Regions from separate parts of the Homo sapiens genome. Here all the other regions are linked to region 3. The links are contacts of gene promoters, found by promoter capture Hi-C in human tissues and cell types (Jung and others, 2019). All regions are on one chromosome and are shown on one strand. Each heading gives the region's core, a stretch centred on a gene start or on the middle of the fragment in contact. The rest is flanking DNA. Distances are from core to core; before and after follow the strand shown.

Region 1 (3,649 bases), core at 671-3,170, 98 kb after region 3:
ATATGTGAACACACAATGCTTATGTAGTAATTCACCAATTTTTAGACTTACAAAATTACTATTATAGAATAAAGAGTTGGAAGTCTATGCCTTAACTTTGAACTTGAGACTTAATCTTAGTGGGCCCCATTTTCAAAATAGAAGATTTAAGCAATAAAATTTTATTTATCTTGAAATTTTAGGAATCATTCTTAAAGTTGTAGTCATATAAATTTTAAAAAATTCCAGTGAGGTAATTTCCCATTGATTTTGCATATAGCTAAAGTATTTCCAAACTTAACCACAGGGCTCATTAGAAAAAAATCTACATGCTTTCTAAGATGTTTCCTCCACAGTCAATTATAGACGCGTAGCCTTATATTCTAAGTAATAATAGAATATAAGGTTCTATCCATATTTTAAATAATTTATTTATATTCTAAGTAATAGAATATAAGCTTCTATTTACATTCGAAATAATAAAATTTATTTATACTCTAGGTAATAGAATTTATTAAGGTCCTTTGGATTCTGTTCTTTGGATTCTCGTCTATCTGTAAGGACAATCTAACAGGCTTTACACTAGTGTAGATCTAAGAATGGTAGGAAGTAAACTTTTCTTTGTTTTCTTCTAAATTTTGCTGTATGAACAATTTTCACATCTGAATTGAGAATATGTATTTCACTTATGGGAGTATCAAAAATTTATCTTCTTAGTTTTCAGTTCTCCCAATATTTGTCACTCTAAAATTGTTGTAAACATCTATAAATGTTATAATAATGTAATACAAGTCAACTGTGGTTGTTCAATGAGGAATACAAAGAGGTTTCAAATATGCTTTCTGTTTTAAGGGTGCCTGAAGACTCATGAGAAAATAGAATACACACCTACACACACAAATACAAATGAAAGTAGTGTTACAGATCTTTGCACAGCACTTGGGCAGCTCAGATGTGAGAGAGATATGAGTAAAATGGGGAACTGAAATTTCAATAGTCTACTAGTCAATGGGAAATTGAAATGGAATTTGAGGTTATGAATAGGCACTAACCAAGAGCCTGGAAATATATTTCAGTCAGATGGGGACAAGGTGGGAATGTACATCATATTTGCAAAGCTACGAGTAGCCTGGTTTAACTGAAGCAGTAGGCTTGGGTGGTGTATATGGGGAATACAGGCTTTGGGGCTAATTTTGGGCCAAATCACGTCAGCTCTTGAAGACAAACATGAGGAGCATGAATTTTATTCATTTTTCTAAGGATAAAAGGGGACACAAAAATTGGCCTTTTAGAAAGATAAATTTGAGAGAATTATGTGACAGGGATTACAGAAAACAAACTGAAGGGAGATAATTAAACTGGGGGAAAGTTACAGTTACCCAGGCAGGCAGGGATGTTGAGTTGAACAAGACAAAGTGGCAGGCTGTGTGAATTGTAGAACATTATTGTATTGACAAAGAATTTAATGGAATGTGTTTATGTGGTTCCTGGTGGTTTTTATTATATTCTCTTCACTGCCTTGCCTTAATTGAGATCTGTCTTCTCATTGTTAATTCTGAAACTCTTATGACTCTGCCACATTAAGAATTTTTATTTTATTAGTTGTACAAGTACTAGTAGTAATAGTAGTAGTAGCTATCCTTTCATGATAACTTTTGTTGATGACTTCCTATGTGCCATGCTCTATCTTAAACAATGTGCATGTATTATTAGGTTGAACTACATAAAATTGCTATTCTTACAGGTCAAAAATGATTGAAGAGCAGCAATTTCATGTGGTTCACTTAATCTTCACAACCACCATATGAGTTAGTTACTATTATTATCCCAATTTTCATGCAAGAAAACTGAAGCATAGAGAGGTTAATATTTGCCTAAGGTTGTAAAACCAGTAAGTGGCACAGCTGGGATTCAAACACAAGCAGTGCTTCTCCAGAGTCCAACTGAACCACCTGCTCTCAGCTTACACTGTACTAAACTCTTTTATCTCATGTAATCTTCCCAGCAAACTTAGGAAGCAGGCACATTCCTGTTTTACAGATAAGAAAAGTGAGGCACAGAAAACTAGTTTGCCTATGGTTACCTACATAAGGAGAAACAGTCATGATTTGAACCTAGCTGTGTCTGATTCCAGAATGGTAACATTCACCCTTTATTCTGTAGCCTGAGAGAGCAGGCAGGATGAGGATTCTCTTGGCTGCCTTTCAATGTTTTCAAGAGATTGTTCTACAAATTCCTTTTCATTATTCCACTTTCCTTTTTAATTTATGGACTTTATCAGCATCCCAAAGTATTCGATATCTGTAATATTTTGAAATTTTCTTGACACTACAGCTTGCTACCATTCTCTGTCTCTCATGTTTACTAAACATTGCTTTTGACCTCACACTTAACATCAGTTTCTTAATCCAATTTGATTTTATAAGTCCGTTTCTTGTTTCACTTCATATGCAAACTATAATGGATGCCATGCTCAGTTATTTCACCTCTATCTTCCTTATCATTTTCCATTTCCTAACCCGAGCAAACTGACACATTTATTTCAGTTTGTCAGTTAATTCCCCAAACCTAGCTCAACCAAATGATCAATTTTCTCTAATTCCGCTCACAAGCAATTTGGATAGAGTTGGAGAAAATTACAGAAGTGGATTAAGTTCAATGTAAATGTGTGATCTAAGTTGGACCCTTGATACTGTAGAGTAATCTTAATTTAAAAAACTAATTTATCTCATTTATTTTTTATTCAAGTTTCCATATACCTGCAGAAGTCATTTTAAACTGTATCTTCTTTTCTCAAATCGTCAATTCTTTTTCTATCTTTTTCATTATCAATTCCTAATTTAACAGAAAAATCTTGCATTCCCTGTCTTACAACCATGCTTGTTCACTTCTTTTCCCAAGTTAATAGTATCTCATCCTACTCAGAACAAAATATTGCTCCCCTTTGTCCCCTCCTTCACAAAGTTAATTCTCCCAGAATTTCACCCCTTTCTGGGAGTTTGAACATTAGGTTATCTTTTATCTTTGGAATCATCATCTCCCACTCATTTGTGATTGAATCTCTTGTTGCTGCTTAAAAAATATACCCAAAGCGGTGTTTGGTTTTCTGTTCCTGTGCTACTTTGATGAGGATGATGGTTTCCAGCTTCATTCATGCCCCTGCAAAGTGGGAGTTGAACAATGAGAACACATGGACACAGGGAGAGCAACATCACACACCGGGGCCTGTCCGGGCATGGGGGGCAAGGGGAGGGACAGCATTAGGACAAAGACCTAATACATGCAGGGCTTACAACCTACATGACAGGTTGATGGGTGCAGCAAACCACCATGGCACATGTATACCTATGTAACAAAACTGCATGTTCGGCACATGTATCCCAGAACTTAAAGTAAAATAAAAAAAAATTATAAAACAAAATGGGAAACAAACAAACAAAAATACCCAAAGCTTCAGCCACTCCTTCCTAAGAAGAAAACAGATCTTTCCTTGATGTGGATTCCCGAAGACTTCTATAGTTACTTAAAGTTACCACCTCTGACTCAGTGCTGGAAAATGGCAGCCTTTTCCTAAACCGCTTGTCTGTCTTATTTCTCCTCACAAAATGCTTCCTAAACTTCTCCACATCTTTCCCAGTTCTCATCACATGCTCTATTTGCCATTTATAGC
Region 2 (3,368 bases), core at 38-2,537, 74 kb after region 3:
CTTTTAAAGGGATAATTTCATCATGCTGTTCTTTTGGTTAAGCTATGAGTAACATCTCACTGGTCTCAGGACAAAGTTTCAAATCCCTAACAGATCCGACAGAGCTCTATGAACCCCTGGCCCCCGCCCCACCACCTGCCTTGCACTAGGCTTAACTTGCAGGACTCTCTTTTCTCTACTTTCTCTCAAGGTGCAGAGACTTTTGGCTTCTGGAACAGAGCATGTTCCTTGCTACCACTGGTTCTCTGTGACTGTTATATCTCTGCCTCAAAGATCCTCCCTGCTCATGTAGTGATGTCTTAGTTATGTTCCAGATCTCAGCTTAAGGGTTTCTTAAGTTTGGGGCTTCTATGTGTCTCTGTTGGCATTCTGTACGTCTCCTTCGAACATTCATCAAAATCTTAATTTATTCATTTTGAAAGCAGGGTATCAGGTTGCTGTGGCAACTCCAGGCAGGGTTGCCAAGGATTGTCTGTGTACCTCTACTTAAGGCTTCTATGACAAAGTTTCCCTTTTCTGTTTTGTTTACTGCCTCCCTCCCTCCACTGCCCCTCCAAATTTAGGGTAGCAATGCTTCCCCTCTGTTGACCTATCCACGTTGCTCAAAACTGTCAAGCACTCTTCATCTCCTCTCTATACCTTCATGCTATTCTCTACCTGTTGAGATTCAGATAACATACTCCTAAACTTTTACTATTTTTTTTCTAAGGTCTTAATCATTTGGGTTTTTCTTTTGTCACCGTCTTCTTATCCTCATAATCTCTGCTCCAGCCATTCTCGATTTTTTTTCTTACATCTTCCTATGGGCCATGGTCTATTTCACTCCTAGGGCCTCACACATGCTGTTCCTACAGTCAGAAAGGAGCAACCCACTCTTACACTGCTAAGTCCTCCCTTTATCTACCTAAACTCTGCTTACCCTTCAAGCTTTATTTTACATTTCAATTCCTCTGAGAAGCCTCTCCTCACTTTTTGTCTTTCTTACCCCCAGTCTAGGTAGGTACTTAGGTAGAATAATGGCCCTCAAAGACGTCTACATTCTAATTCCTGGAACCTGTGAATATGTTAGGTTACATGGCCAGGAAGAATTAAGGTTGTATATGGAATTGACATTGTGAATCAGGTGACCCTGAGATGGAGGACGATTCTGGACTATCTAGGTGGGCCCAATGTAATCATAAGGGTCCTTATGGGTGAAATAGGGAGGCAGGACGGTCAGTGTCAGGGAAAATTCCACTGGCCATTGCTGGCTTCGAAGACAGGAAGGGACCACAAGCTAAGGAATGCAAGTGGCCTCTAGAAGCTGAAAAAGACAAGGAAATGGACAGATTCTCCCCTAGAGACTCCAGCAGGAACACAGTCCTACTGAAATGTGATTTTATCCCAGTGGGACTTATGACTTTTGACCTTCAGAACTCTAATATAATAAATTTGTGTTTTTTCTGTTTTTTTTTTTTTCTCAGATTGAGATGCAAAAATTTTTATTGTTCTACATGGCAATTAGTTACAGAAGCAGAAACTATTACTGTATTTTTTTCAGGAGTTTCCATAGTCTACACTTCCCTGTCATGGTTTTTAATCATCCTGTATTATAATTGCCTATTGGTTTATCTGGCCTTTTTATAGACTCTAAAACCCACAGGACAGAACAATCACTGTTTCATTCACTGTCCTTTAGCCAGTGCTAACTACAATGCCTGGAAGGTAGTAGGCTTTCAGTAAGTATTTGCTGAGTAAATTAATGGCAGATCCAGAATTCAAACATGGTATCTTTGATACAGTGCAGTAGCAGTAGCTCTTTGGCTCTGAAGCAGATACTACTTGAGATTTTTTTTTCTCTTGGAAATCTGCCTAAGATCATCTGAAATCAGATATAGCTTAGCCAACTTTAGTTATCTGAGAAAATTTTTCCAAATAACATTGATCCACTGTGTTATGACATCTTGGTTTTCATCTGGACAGAAACACATTATAAATGAATTTATTGGGTCCCCTTAACTTCTTCACGCAGGAGAATGGCGCATTTCTCATTTACCATTAAGATCAGTTACATGTGTTTCCATGGCACATTGTTCAGAAATGGCCAGAGCAGCTGGGTAGTGCAAGGAATGGCTGCCTATGGGTGGAACATTGTGTTTCAGATCCCCAGTTGTTCACTCTTTCTGGGGCAAACAGTCTCATTTGAAGGTTATTTTCTCAGGTGAAATAGACACAGTTTCATCTGTTTTAGCCACTTACACAGAAAGACAGGAATGTCCTAGGATTCCTAGAGCAAATGACATGGCAAAGTGTGTTCAGGGCCTCAGCTAGCCTCACCGCATGTGGAACATTTCTGGTTACTATCTACATAACAAAACGGAATAAATCATAAGGTTTTAATATGATTAAAATCTAGACTTTTTATTCTTTCCTTTTTAGTATTTCTCTCTGATGAACAATTTGATGGTGAATATCAAAAGCTATTGGAATTTAGTACATTATCACTCTTGATGCCTTATATTTTTAAGATCCAGTGAAAGAAAGGAAGAAAAAATACCTCCTAATTGATTCTTTTTTATCTTTGCCAAATACAGTAACTCTTATCAACTAAAATCACTAAGAAATTAAAGCTGATTAGGGAACATTAGGAACGCTGTCAATGGATTTTTAAAAATCAGGGAAAAAGTTTCAGCATTCATTAAGCCCTCAGGGGAGGAAAGATGTATTCTAGCAAATCATAACAATTGAAATGTATTTCTATTATTTTTTTTCTGAAGAAGCTTCAAGCACTTACACTGAATTCCAGAATGCTTCAACTTCCAACTGATAGAGTGTTAAACACTATGAAGAATGTTAGTGTGGGAGACAGAGAAAGAACAGCATTTTTTATTTTTGTACAGTCAACTAGTTGTTTTGCAGAAAATAATTTTGATAATTTTATATGACCTTGAACATTTACACATATTTCATGGGGAGCTTAGAAATAAACATTTTGATATAATATTGGAGTTAAGGTTTAATAAAAGGGGAATTTATTTCCTTCAAAAAGAGCCTAATTACAGAAAATTAGGAGATTCAAAAAGTAGTCAATGGAACAACTTTTGGATCATGGGAAGCTTCACCAGATAGTTCTCTACTTCAGTTTCTGCAAAGATGGTTTTGTCAGAGGAAGCAAAGAGGCTGGACTGCTTACTGAAGTGTGAAAAACAAAGCATTAAACAGGCTACTTTAACGCATCTCAGGCCATCCTGAATTCATTTGGAGTGTGGGTAGGAACCTAAAATCTGGCTCCAGAGCAAAACCCACATGGAAACATTATCAGAAAGAAAATTTCTTTCCATATATCAGAAACTTAAGATCAGTAAGGTGAAAGATTTTGCAGAATAGTA
Region 3 (3,614 bases), core at 153-2,652:
TTCTATGGTTTGTGTCTGTAGGACTTTTTAGATAAAACTGGCAGCCCCATTAGATAAGAAATGGCTTTTTAGAAGCTTTGGGGGAAGCGCGGGGGTTCTTCGTGGCCTTCCTGTGACTGTCTTTGGGAGACCGTAACAGATGATGGGAACATGTAAGAATGATTGAAGAAGGTTACCGGCGAGTTGCACCTAACAGTCTTCTCTCTCCAAGTAGTTTCTCGAGAGAAAATTATATATTAACGCCTGGGGACGTGAAATAGGTCTTTCACTGTTCTGTAATAAATCCCTCCCTACTCGCGCCCTTAGACTAATGCATTTTTAAAAAATCTCCACAAAGTCATGGAGACTTGTCCTTATAATTACCAAAATACCACAGCTAGTTGCACAAGTTTGCTTAAAAACAAAGGGCAGGAGACCAGCAGTGAGAAGAATTGAACAGTATATAAAAATCTTACAAACTTTAGACTACTGAAAGATCATTTCGCTCTTTGGCTTCGGGTTAGTGAGCTTCAATTCTAGAGTTAAACTGAGAAGCAGACCTCGCGGGTCTGAAAGACAAAAAGTCAGTCCGCGGAGTCAACTTCGGTTTACCGGTGCGTTCCAACCTGATTGTCCCAACAGCAAGAAGCGCCCCTTTCCTCCCACCCAACGTTTTTAGATATCTGAGGTTGGGGGAGACGGAGTAATGGTGTAGCAGTCAGGAAACAGTTCCTCTGGGTTTAATCATCCCATTCCCGATTCTTCTTCCCCTAGCGCGCCGAGCGCAGCCAGTTCTGGAGGAACTAGCCCTCCGGAGCAGCCAAGGCAGGCCAGGCCCCGGGGATGTGCACCACGGCGTGGGGACCAAACCAAGCTGAACGGCCTGCTCCAAGTTCCCCCCTTTTCCTAGAGCCCGGGAGGGACCTCGTCAACAGGTAGACCTACCCACCAGCCACTCGCCACCGGCGGCAGAAAGTGAGCCCCGCGCGCAACGCGGCCAGCCGGACTGCGGGGACCCCAGGAGCGCAGGGCGGAGGAGCAGCGCCACAGGAGGCGAGGGCGCAGGCGGCGCGGCCGGGAAGGAACGCGGGAGGGGACAGAAGGAAGAGGAAGAGGAGGAGAGGGAGGCCAGAGCCAGAACAGCCCGGCAGCCCGAGCTTCGGGGGAGAACGGCCTGAGCCCCGAGCAAGTTGCCTCGGGAGCCCTAATCCTCTCCCGCTGGCTCGCCGAGCGGTCAGTGGCGCTCAGCGGCGGCGAGGCTGAAATATGATAATCAGAACAGCTGCGCCGCGCGCCCTGCAGCCAATGGGCGCGGCGCTCGCCTGACGTCCCCGCGCGCTGCGTCAGACCAATGGCGATGGAGCTGAGTTGGAGCAGAGAAGTTTGAGTAAGAGATAAGGAAGAGAGGTGCCCGAGCCGCGCCGAGTCTGCCGCCGCCGCAGCGCCTCCGCTCCGCCAACTCCGCCGGCTTAAATTGGACTCCTAGATCCGCGAGGGCGCGGCGCAGCCGAGCAGCGGCTCTTTCAGCATTGGCAACCCCAGGGGCCAATATTTCCCACTTAGCCACAGCTCCAGCATCCTCTCTGTGGGCTGTTCACCAACTGTACAACCACCATTTCACTGTGGACATTACTCCCTCTTACAGATATGGGAGACATGGGAGATCCACCAAAAAGTAAGAGGCTATTTTACCTTGTGGGGCTCGGTGTGCTGTTCTTGTGCGGGGTTCTCTCTCAGGCACAGGCTGAGGTGCCAAGGGCTCTTTGGAGTTGGAGTCATTGCCTGGAGAAAGAGAAAAGGTGGCTTTTTCTTGTTGCCGCCACGCCTGCATGCTTACTGTCGGTTCTTATCTTCGGGAAACTGATTGTACCTTGTGTGTGAATTCGCCTGTGTGCCCTCCAAAGCTCTAGCTTTCTGGTGCTAAGCGGTGATTTCCTCCTGGGGAATCCTGAGCTCTCCGAGAAGGTTATTATGTTGCAAAGGTCTGCCTGCACAGTCAATGCCCAGAGATGTGAATTAGCATTAGACTTGCAAAAGAGAACGAGTGACAACTGTATTTATGCCTGCTCTTGCTAACAATATCCAGTCCTGTGTGCTATTTAAGAGCGCGCTTCACGGAAAATATAGACATCCCTGCGTTCACTTAACGCTTCTAGTCAAAACCTTTTCTTTGACTTGACTTATCCATAATCTTTCCCAATGATTATAGCAAAGAGGAAGGGGGGGGGGAGAAATACAAAATGAGCGGGTTTGATTGCGTGCTAGGCGTACAAATGTAGACTATTCCAATCTGCATTTTACATATATTCCACCTCCTTTTAAAAATGAGTCAAGGTTTTGATGGCACATTTCAATTACCATCCCAAAGTGCAATGCTCTAAAAAAAAAAAAAAAGAAAGAAAGAAAGAAAGAAAAAAACCTCCCAGAGTACGCCCTATAAGAGAACGACACTAAAAGTGTGTTTATCTCTGTAGGAAGTAAACGGTTAGTCAATCATGTATTTATTTTCATTTCAGAAAAACGTCTGATTTCCCTATGTGTTGGTTGCGGCAATCAGATTCACGATCAGTATATTCTGAGGGTTTCTCCGGATTTGGAATGGCATGCGGCATGTTTGAAATGTGCGGAGTGTAATCAGTATTTGGACGAGAGCTGTACATGCTTTGTTAGGGATGGGAAAACCTACTGTAAAAGAGATTATATCAGGTATGGCATTTACACTTCTTTCTTAATTTTGTGGGATTTCCCTGAATCTCCCCACTCTTTATGTATTATTTGGTGTGGCTTTGTCTTTTTGTGAAGTTTGCCTCAGTGTAGTCATACAAGCCAAAGTTACCCTGTACATGTGTTAAAAAAATCAAGCTATGCTGTTCATTTCATTCTTTAGTTGAGAAAAACAAAAACCCTTAACAGTGGTATTCATAATTCCGGGGTATTGAGGCTTGTTTAATTACTCTTGGAGTTTATGATGCACAAATTATTTTCCTCTTTCACCCTCCCCCTTACAAAACAAAATTTTAAAAAGATGGAGAAGTTTGGATTTTTAGCTTTAAAATAGGGTTGATTTTTGTTGTATAGTGCAGTGTTCTGTTTGTTTTAGTCCTTTTTAAAATTAGTAGCTTACAAATTCTTTGGTGGCATCAATGCAATAGGTGAAATAAAAGTTTGACCGAAGCATGTTTAGAGATGTACTTTGAAAGAGCGAGTACAGGTATTGCTCCTTTTATTTTTGGGGTAAGACCTCCTTCTGAGAAAAATTTAAAACCAACCTAAATATTCCTTGGAAAAAACACCGGAAACTTAATCTTTTTAAATATTAACCCTTTGGTGACATCTAACTGTCTCTTCTTTCTTATCTTATCTGAGCTGATGAATTAGAGCAGATCAAATTGCCCATCATCTGTCTACGAACAATTGGTATATTTAGATAATTGAACAGCTTCCTTTCTCACATTAAAATCTGGTAACTGATAAAATGAGCGAATTGTCCAAATTGACAAGACTGAAACAACATAGGAACTTTCTGAGTTTGGTTTTGTTGTTTTGGAGAGTTTTTGTTTTTTTTTTCCTCCAATTTATTCTGCAACACGTTTTGCTAATCTCAAGTTTCCTCTGACTTGTGTGTATGTATCAGA

Evidence for each region. Contacts are between HindIII fragments. The study calls those that stand out against the background at their distance.
Region 1: a fragment that was not itself captured here is called in contact with the fragment with the promoter of ISL1 in region 3 in 3 of the 25 tissues and cell types used here (H1 embryonic stem cells, adrenal gland and hippocampus).
Region 2: a contact is called between a fragment that was not itself captured here and the fragment with the promoter of ISL1 in region 3, in 5 of the 25 tissues and cell types used here (adrenal gland, heart left ventricle, neural progenitor cells and 2 more).

What each region holds. Positions count from the first base shown.
Region 1 is chr5:51,479,103-51,482,751 of GRCh38, forward strand. No RefSeq gene overlaps it. Among named protein-coding and RNA genes, the nearest start is that of ISL1, 97 kb to the left of the region's middle. The HindIII fragment of the contact is 5,002 bases long and covers 1-3,649 here.
Region 2 is chr5:51,456,637-51,460,004 of GRCh38, forward strand. No RefSeq gene overlaps it. Among named protein-coding and RNA genes, the nearest start is that of ISL1, 75 kb to the left of the region's middle. The HindIII fragment of the contact is 3,279 bases long and covers 1-2,927 here.
Region 3 is chr5:51,382,046-51,385,659 of GRCh38, forward strand. It overlaps ISL1 (ISL LIM homeobox 1), which reads left to right and starts at 1,403. Exons shown (of 6, transcript NM_002202.3): 1 at 1,403-1,654; 2 at 2,496-2,685. The coding sequence starts at 1,627. It overlaps ISL1-DT (ISL1 divergent transcript), which reads right to left and starts at 1,287. Exons shown (of 2, transcript NR_046243.1): 1 at 929-1,287. RefSeq lists enhancers at 3,112-3,614, 3,457-3,614. The HindIII fragment of the contact is 8,696 bases long and covers 1-3,614 here.